Regions from separate parts of the Homo sapiens genome. Here region 2 is linked to region 1. The links are contacts of gene promoters, found by promoter capture Hi-C in blood cells and fetal thymus (Javierre and others, 2016). All regions are on one chromosome and are shown on one strand. The core of a region is centred on a gene start or on the middle of the fragment in contact, and the rest is flanking DNA. Distances in the headings are between cores, read along the strand shown.

Region 1 (4,939 bases), core at 1,112-3,611:
GGCTGAGGTGGGAGGATCATCTGAACCCAGGGAATTTAAAGCTGCAGTGAGCCACGATTGTCTGCCATGACAGAGTGAGACCCTGTCTCAAAAAACAAAACAAAACCCCAAAAAACAAAACTAAACTTACTCTTACAATATGATCCAGCAATCATGCTTCTTGGTATCTACCCAAAGGAGTTGCGAACATGTCCACACAAAAACCTGTACACAGATGTTTGTAGGAGCTTTATTGATAATTGCCCAAACACAGAAACAACCAGAATGCCCTTTAGTTGGGGAATGAATAAACACTGTTACAGCCTGACAATGGAATATTATTCAGCACTAAAAAGAAATGAACTCTCAAGACAAGACATGGAGAAAGCTTAAATGCATATTACTATAAGGAAAGAAGCCAATCTGAAAAGGCTAGCCACTCCAAGATTCCCATTATATGCCATTCTGGAAAAGTCAAAACCATGCAGTCAGTGGAAAGATCAGCGGTTGCCAGGTGTTGTCGGAAGAAAGGGATGAACAGGAGCACTAAGGATTTTCAGGGCAGTCAAACTATTCCGCGTGATACTATAATGGTGGATCCATGTCATTATATATTTGCCAAAACCCACAGAATAAAACACCAAGAGTGAACCCTAATGCAAACTCTGAATTTTGGGTGATAATGATGTGTCAATGTAGGTTCACTGATCATAACAAAGGTACCACTTTGGTATGGGATGTTGACAGTGGAGGATGCTGTGCATGTGTGACAGTAGGGGTACATACGGGAACTCTATTTTCTGCTCAATTTTGCTGTGAACCTGAAAGTGTTCTAAAAACTAAAGTCTATTTTAAAAAATCCACTGTTTCACCTAATTCAACACTTCACTCCCACTCTGATAATCTCTGGCAACCAATGATCTGTTTACTGTCTGTATTTAAATTTAATTAAAACAATTTTTAAACTGTTTTGATATTTTTATAATAATCAATATATTTTGATTGGACTTTTATAGTGAGCACTTTCTTTGGAAATGAGTGTCTTTGACCTTCAAAAAAGTTATAGTTGTTATCAGTTATCATAAGAGGTGGGGCCCACCTCTTAAAGTAGCAATAAAATCTTATTTATGGTTGAAAAAGGTCAGGTCATTGCGCCACTTCTCTTTGCAGGTTTCTGTGCAATCCATCAGGGGACAGCTGGGACTAATCATTTAAAAAACTTTCCAGCCTGCTAATTTTACCATACCTCACATTTTTGTCATTCCTGGCCAAAATCCAAAGGGCAAGTCCCTTCTGCAGCCTCATTTTTTTTTTTTCTGTACTTTCGCTCCCCTGACGCAAGCTTCCACTGTCTCCCATCCTAACTTTACCACTACGCCCTCTAGAATGCCTTTTCCTGATAAGCAAAACCCCCCGAGTCGTTGGCTCCTCCACTTTCCGGTTTTGGCAGAATCCTTGATCTGAGCCAGGCCTCTTCCCAGGGGCTCTGGCCCTCTTCACTTCCTTTTCCCCGGAGGACTCTGGCTCCCGGGTAGCAAGCAGCCCACTTCCCCGGCCGCTTCCTTCCCCCGGGATGACACGTTTCTACAGGCGGACTCTTCTAATTCATACTATTTCCCTACCCCCGTGGTGGCTCCTAGCACCCCCAGGCCTGTTCTACCTGTAAAATCTTGACACATTTAAACTACTACTTCTGATCCTTTCCTCCCCGTCCAGCCTTCGCTCTTAGGCTGCCGAGCCTGGACTGCTTGTCATCCCCTCAGGCGTCTCCCCGGCCCTCCCTGCTCTTCAGCCGTCCCGACGGAGCGCGGCTCCTGACCAAACCCACGGTTCGTCTTCTCCACCTGCTCCGCGCGCCTCGCATGTGTCTGGGGGGAAACACATCCAAACGTCGACTTAAATGATTCAGGGCCGAGGACCGTGAGAGGCAGTCTTCACTTTTTCATCTTTCTTCATTTGCACAGTATACCAATAAGCTCTTACTACTTCTCAGCACAGGTAACTCGCCTTTTGCAGAGCACCCTCCGCCGCCGAACGGTCAGAGCCTGGAGGAACCCGCACCAGGATCGTAGGGCATGACGGGCCGGGGGCGGGACGAGGATTGACGAGCCGGGAACAGGGCGGGGCTTGAGGGGGCGGGAGGGTGGGGCGAGGCATGACGGCTCTGGTGGGAGGGTAGGCGGGGCTTGACGGGCCTGGGGGCGGGGCGGGGCTTGAGGGACCGGAAGGTGGGGCGAGTCATGACGGGCCGGGGCGTGGGCAGGGCTTGAGGGGCCAGGGGACTGTGTGGGGCCTGACGGGCCGGTGGGTGGGGCGGGGCTTGAAGGACCGGAGGGTGTGTGGGCGGGGCTTGATAGGCAGGGGCGGTGCGGGGGCGTGGGCAGCACAAGCCGTGCGCTCCCGGGCTGCGAGGTCTGGCTAGGCTACGGGCCACGCGCCGCCGCCGCTGCCGCCGCCACTGTCCTCTTCGGAGGCGCGGGCCCGACGGAAACCATGTTTGTGGCTCGCAGCATCGCGGCGGACCACAAGGATCTCATCCACGATGTCTCTTTCGACTTCCACGGGCGGCGGATGGCAACCTGCTCCAGCGATCAGAGCGTTAAGGTGCGCGCGGCGCTTGCGGGCGGGGCCGACCCCGGAAGGAAGGAAGGGGAGTGGGTGGGCGGCGCGGGGAACGGGGCTGTGTCTTGGTTCAGTGACGCCGCTGGAAGCTGTGGGGTGGCGGGCGAGCCCTGGCTGGACTGAGCGGAAGCCCTCCCCGCCCGCGTATTGTGGGGTCACGGCGGCCTCGCGGGCCGCCCTCCCGTGCGCCTGCGCAGCTGGTGCCACGTGCGCGCTCCCGCCCGCAGGGTACGCCGGGCCCTCTCCCAGGCCGCGCTGCCGGGGCTGCGGGCGGGAACCCAGGGGCATCCCACCGTCAGCCTCGGCGTCGTGGGTCTTGCCCGCGCTGTTCACCCGACGACCTGCAGTGGGACCTGGTGGGAGACTTTGCCTGGCTGGCGCTGCGTCGAGTTCTGTGCCCCGCCGGTGTTCTCTCACCAGGGCACATGGTTTTCTCCGTGGGTTCAGAGCAGAAGCTCACTTTGTTACGCCGAGGAAGAAAAATACAAACCATTTACATCCAATGATTTCCCTGCTTGCTGCCCAGGAATCGGAGGGTTTGTTTCTTGAAGTTCCCGTAAACGTCTGTAGACACTTCCGACAAGCAGAATTTCTTTTCTTTTTTTTTTTTTTTTTTTGAGACCGAGTCTCACTCTGTCACCCAGGCTGGAGTGCAATGGCACGATCTCGGCTCACTGCAACGTCCGCCTCCCGCTTTCAGGCGATTATCCTGCCCCAGCCTCCCAAGTAGCAGGGATTACAGGTGCACGCCACCACCCCCGGCTAATCTTTTTTTTTTTTTGTATTTTTTAGTAGAGACAGAGTTTCACCATGTGGGCCAGGCTGGTCTCGAACTCCTGACCTCGTGATCCACCCGCCTCGGCGCCTCGGCCTCCCAAAGTGCTGGGATTACAGGCGTGAGCCACCGCGCCCGGCCTACAAGCAGAATTTCTAATGTGGGGATGCTACATGAGATTTAGGAACCTCCCAGATGTGTTGCAGGATGAATGAAAGCTGGAGTGCGGATTATTTGGTTCTCGACAACTCCAGAGTAACTGGAAATCTGAAGGATAGTTTATCCTTTTTCACATTCGAGTTTGATACCAGTGATCTCTCAAAGATAAACTTTTTATAAATAGTGTTGCAATTTTTAAAAGATGTAGTTTCTTTTTTAAAACAAGTTTATTTTTGTTGTAATAAACTACGTTAACCGTTTTTTTTTTTTTTTTTTTTTTTTTTTTGAGACGGAGTCTTGCTCTGTCACCCAGGCTGGAGTGGGGTGGCGCAATCTTGGCTCACTGCAAGCTCCGCCTCCCGGGTTCACGCCATTCTCCTGCCTCAGCCTCCCAAGTAGCTGGGACTACAGGCGCCCGCCACCACGCCCGGCTAATTTTTTGTATTTTTTAGTAGAGACAGGGTTTCACCATGTTAGCCAGGATGGTCTCTATCTCCTGACCTCGTGATCCGCCCACCTCGGCCTCCCAAAGTGCTAGGATTACGGGCGTGAGCCACCGCGCCCGGCCCACGTTAACCGTTTTAAAGTGTAGAATTCAGTGGCATAGAGCACAGCATTCACATTTTTGTGCAGCGTCGCCCCTGCCCATCTCCAGAACCTTTTCATCATCCTAAACTGAAACTCTGTACCCAAGAGCACCCTGTTCCGCCACCCCATCCTCTGGTAACCTCTATTCTACTGCTTTCTATTAATTTGCATATTCTAGGTACCTCAGATAAATAGAATCATAGAATATTCGCCCTTTTATATTTGGTTTATTTCACTTAGTATAATTTTTTTTTTCTTTTTTCTTTTTCCTTTTTTTTTGAGGCAGAGTCTGGCTCTGTCACCCAGGCTGGAGTGCAGTGGTGCGATCTTGGCTTGTTGCAGCCTCAACATCCCAGGTTCAAGCCATCCTCCCACCTTAGCCTCTCCAGTAGCTGGGACTACGAGTGCACGCCACCACGCCTGGCCAATTAAAACATTTTTTTTGTAGAGGCAGGGTCTTGCTGCGTTGCCCAGGCTAGTCTCGAACTCCTGAGCTCAAGTGATCCTCTCACCTCAGCCTCCCAGAGTGCTGGGATTACAGGTGTGAGTCACCTTGCCCAGCCCTCTTAGGTCCATTTATTCCAGAGTACTTTTTTTTTAAAGGAGGAGCCATGTATTTATTTGTATATATTTTTAATTGAGCAAGTAATATATTTTTCTTTTTAGAAAGTGAAAAAATTATAGACTTATTGCTAATGTGTTAATATTTATTGATTTCCTCTGTTTTTCCTTTAACGTTTTAAGTTGTCATGGTAGAGTGTGTGTATATACGTATATGTCTTGTCAGAAATAGTGTTGTACTGAAATTTTTCATTA
Region 2 (5,020 bases), core at 1,690-4,189, 650 kb after region 1:
CTAGTTCTCTTCATTTGTTCCTGTGGATTTGAGTTACCATCTGGTACCATTCTCTTTGCCTAGTACAGCTTTGCTCCCACTCACCTCCTCTGTGTTGTCATCATGAAATAAATTACATTTCTACATGTTATTGGGCCAGTGGCACAATTACTTATGCATATATTTGTTTTAAACAATTGCCTTTTAAGTTAATTAAGAGAAGAAGGAAGAAGAAATGTACATTTACACTATCTTTTATCATTATGCAGTTATCTTTCCTGGAGCTCTTTGTTCATGCAGATTCAAATTACTGTCTGGGGTTACTTGCTTTCAACCTAAAGAAATTCCTTTTGTATTTCTTAAGTGAGTCTACTAGCAACAGTCTTTCAGTTTTTGTTTACCTAGGAAGGTCTTTATTTAGTCTTAACTTCTGAGAGATAGTTTTGCTGGATATAAAATTCTTGGTTCACAGTCTTTTTAAATAAATTTCAGCATATCAAATATGTCATCCCATTGTCTTCTGGCTTTCATTGTTTCTGATGAGAAGTCAGTTGTTAATCTTAATAGGGTTATCTTATAAATGATGAGTCATTTGTCTGTTACTATTTTCCTTGGTTTGGCTGTCAGCATTTTTACCATGATGTGCCTGTTTTTTGGTCTCTTTGAATTTATCCTATTTGGAGTTTGTTGTAATTCCTGAGTGTATAGATTAACTTTTTCAATAACTTTAGTACATTTTCAGCCATTATTCTTTGGATTTTTGTTTCTGCTCATTTCTCTCTCTCTCTCTCTCTCTCTCCTTTCCTGTGGTACTCCTAATGTGTATGTTGGTGTGATTAATGATGTCTTGTGTTTTTTATCTAAGGCTCTACTTGTTTCTCTTCAATCATTTTTCTGTTACTCAGAGTGCACAGTCTTTATCAATCTATAAGTTTGCTAAATCTCTCTTATGTCAGTTTAGATCTACTGTTAAGCTCTAGTGAATTTTTTATTTTGGTTATTGTATTTTCAACACCAGGCATTCCATTTGGTTTTTTCACAGATAATTCTATTTCTTTATTGATCTACTGTTAAGCTCTAGTGAATTTTTTATTTTGGTTATTGTATTTTCAATACCAGGCATTCCATTTGGTTTTTTCACAGATAATTCTATTTCTTTATTGATATTCTCTGTTTGATGCAACAATGCCATTTTACCTTGCTTTGCTTCTTTAATCATTGTTTCCTTGATTTCTTTGAACATACTTGTAATGGCTATTGTGAAGTTTTTGTTAAGCTGGATATCTGGGCCCTCCCACAGGTAGTTTCTATTGCCTGCTTTATTTCCTGTTTATGTGTCACACTTTCCTTTGCTTGTCTCATTTTTTGTTACTGAAAACTGGACATTTTGATAATATATTGTATTGACTCCTCTAGAGACGGATTTTCTCCTCCTCCCCAGAACTTCTTGTTGTTTTCTCATTTATTTAGTAGCTTCGTTGGACTATTTTATTAAAGTCTGTTTTCCTTGCAATGTGAAGCCTCTGATGTCACTCCTCAGAGGGCACAGCCTTGGATATGGCACAGTCACCCTGGGATGGCAGTGATTTTAGCAGAGCTCTCTTTGTTTCTTTGCTTCATATTTCTGTCAAGCTGTCTGCCTTAGTTGGTATCACACCCAGCTGTTAGTTTCCACTAATTGCTGGCTAATTGCTTTATTGTTTTCCTCTATGCCTGGGGCATAAATCACTACAGAGTCTGATCCAACTAAATTCAGGCCCCTTTGCAGGGGTCATTTTTGATCTAGCCTTTGAGGTTTGTTCTGACCCCAGAAAGGTTCTTCTTAACTGTCTCTTTCTCTGATTCTCTGTAAAATTGCTGACCTAGAGTTAAGCTTGTCACTCTCAAAGAGCTACTAGCCTCCTCTCAATTTCTTACTACCAAAATTTCTACAGTTTTTGAAAGCACCCTTACACTTGAGCTTCCTCACATACTGTTCTAAATAAAGTAAGTTTTCGGTAGCAGAGCTTTGGAACTCTTTGTTCTTATGGCCTGCCTGTACACTCTGGGCAAAATCTCTGAGTTGATGCTCCACAGCTGGAGTGGGGACATTAGCTCACTTCTCTGAGTGAGCCCTCCTCAACTTTATGGGCAGGATGGGCAGGACACTGGGTAGAGGTAGTAGCCGCTGGTCTTTTTAGCTTGCCTCTCCTTACATGGAATTTCCACCCTGTGAATGAACTGGGCTAGAAGCAGTTGGGACCATGCTATCATTAGCCTGCCATTCCTCGGATAGATCTTCTGCCCTAAGAGTGGGGGTGAGGAAGGGGTAGAACAAGGAAGGCCAAGTGGTAATAGGAAGCCTATGGCCTCTTGACTGCATTCACCTGTAATTTAACCTCTGCAACAGGGACGTGCTGTGCTTGCCTTTCACTGGAGATGCCATAGGCTTTGTTGGGAAGTGGGGAGAGAGGAAACTCTTGTTTTTTTGCCACACCCACTCAGTGTAGATCTTCCCTGTGCTGAACTGGGGAAGGGAGAGGGAAGGAGTGGGTTGTGGCTCAAGTGCCACAGACTGTCACTGTTCTTACAATGGAAGTAAGAGATTTTAATAGATTTTCTTGAAACAAGATATTTATTAATCTGCTGAAATTCCCTTGGACAATTTTCAGAGACTCAAAATGGTTACTCTTTTACATAATTTCAGCAATTATGGTTGTTTTCCTGGCAAGTGAGTCTGTGGAACTTCTCAGCTCACTATTCTTTGAGTCTCCAATTTTTTTTTTTTTTTTTTTTTTGAGACAGAGTCTCACTCAGTCACCCAGGATGGAGTGTAGTGGCGTGATCACGGCTCACTGCAAGCTCCACCTCCTGGGTTCACGCCATTTTCCTGCCTCAGCCTCCTGAGTGGCTGGGACTACAGGCGCCCGCCACCACACCCGGCTAATTTTTTTGTATTTTTAGTAGAGATGGGGTTTCACCCTGTTAGCCAGGATGGTCTCGATCTCCTGACCTCGTGATCCGCCTGTCTTGGCCTCCCATAGTGCTGGGATTACAGGCATGAGCCACCGCACCCGGCCGTGAGTCTCCTATATTATATTTTAACTGTGTTAAAGTTTCAAACACAATATATATGTGGACAAGTCATGTTTTTCTTACTAATTGATTGAAACTAAATTATACAGCAAACCTTTCTTTTAAATGAGCAAAAGAAAGAAAATTATCTTTATATTCTATAAATAACATTAAAGATTGTTTTGGATTTTATTATATATCTTTTAAAAATAGAGACAGGGTCTCACTATATTGACCAGTCTGGTCTCAAACTCCTGAGCAAATGAAGCAATCCTCTTGCCTTAGCCTCCCAGGTAGCTGAAACTATAGGCACATACCACTATACCTGTAATTTTATTATACAATTTTTAATAATATGCTTGCCTCAAATGTTTTATTTAAAATATCTAGCATATCAGGCCTGTGATTTTTTGGATATTGTTACTTAGAAGTTAAATTTTTTAAAAAATGAATTAATTGAAGTCCAGTTTAAAATCAATATTAAATAAATAATAGAACATGTGGAGTGCAGGTATTTTAAGAATCCTTAGGGTGGGACTTGAAGGACTTGGACTGAAGTGTGCAAGACATTGATTTGGTCCTAGCAATGAAATGAGACATGTGAGGACTGCACAGCTGTGTGACTCAAGATGTCACTTTCAGCTAGCAGGACAGGTGGCACTAGACCCTGGGTCTCCTGACCAGCATCCAACTGCATCAAGAGTCACTAAAGCCAAAATGTTCCAGGCATAATGACAGCAGACAGAATCTGTAGCCTAAGACTTCCAGGGCATTCAGCTGGAGTCTGATCAAGGTTCGCCATTTGCTGTTTTGTCTGTTTGAGCTAAAAATCACCAAGAAGACCATGTGTGACCAAATTGCCACCCTGCAGCCAACCTTTGCCAGGATTTCTGCCTCTCAGAGGATGAATGGTGATAGACTGGTTTGGAAAATTTTTCTGTAAGGTATATTATAGGAAACAAAATTGTAAAGGTATTTGCAGTATTACCATTTCTAAGCTTGTAAATTTTTTTAAAATTACTTTTATTTGTATAACCAAAATTAGATGGGTTTCTGCCAGAGTAGCATTCCTTCTATGAGGACTCTACATTTTTATTATTAACACTCTATTTTACTGTATTTGCTTTCCTGCTGTGGGTATTTACTATGTTGAGAATAACAGACTTAATTAAGGTCATTTTTAATCAAAACAAGACCATGTTTCTCCTTATCTGCATAAAAGGCACTATCAGGCCTTTAGGGAGGATGGGCACCTGTTCTCCTAACCCTTTGGCTTCTGTCCATTTCATGGTGGCAAGGTGTCATCATAAAGTCCAGTCGATCCATCTCCATTATCTCTGGTTAACCAGGGGCCTCACATTCACAGCTAAGTTTGTCATGTTTCCATTTGTCAGCCCTGTAGAAATATTTTAAACGCAGAAATCTGATGTTATAATGCATTTAACAATGATCATTTATCCAAAATCTATGAGGAATGTAAACAAATCAATGAGAATAAAACAAATAACCCCACTAAAAACTGGGCAAAGGACATGAACAAACACTTCTCAAAAGAAGACTTACAAGTGACCAACAAACATAGGAAAAAATGCTCAACATCACTAACCATAAGAGAAATGCAAATCAAAACCACAGTGACCACCTCACAGCAGTCAAAACAGCTATTATTAAAAAGACAAAAAATAACAGATATTGACGAGGCTGCAGAGAAAAGGGAACACTTCCGGGCATGGTGGCGGGCGCCTGTAGTCCCAGCTACTCGGGAGGCTGAGGCAGGAGAATGGCATGAACCCGGGAGGCGGAGCTTGCAGTGAGCCAAGATTGCGCCACGGCACTCCAGCCTGGGCGACAGAGTGAGACTCTGTCTGAAAAAAAAAAAAAGAAAAAAAAAGGAAAAGAAAAGGGAACACTTACACACTCTTGGTGGAAATGCAAGTTAGTTCAGCCACTATAGAATGCAGTTTGGAGATTTCTCAAAGAACTGAAA

What was found. The method cuts DNA at HindIII sites, captures the fragments that hold promoters and counts their contacts. A CHiCAGO score of 5 or more calls a contact.
Region 2: a contact is called between a fragment that was not itself captured here and the fragment with the promoter of SEH1L in region 1, in 1 of 17 cell types (naive B cells). The highest score is 5.1, in naive B cells.

The regions. Positions count from the first base shown.
Region 1 is chr18:12,945,650-12,950,588 of GRCh38, forward strand. It overlaps SEH1L (SEH1 like nucleoporin), which reads left to right and starts at 2,362. Exons shown (of 9, transcript NM_001013437.2): 1 at 2,362-2,583. The coding sequence starts at 2,473. RefSeq lists silencers at 2,060-2,509, 2,550-2,899, 2,910-3,009 and an enhancer at 2,941-3,542. The HindIII fragment of the contact is 15,085 bases long and covers 1,320-4,939 here.
Region 2 is chr18:13,596,753-13,601,772 of GRCh38, forward strand. The region is part of intron 4 of LDLRAD4 (low density lipoprotein receptor class A domain containing 4); the gene reads left to right. Among named protein-coding and RNA genes, the nearest start is that of MIR4526, 12 kb to the right of the region's middle. The HindIII fragment of the contact is 2,179 bases long and covers 1,851-4,029 here.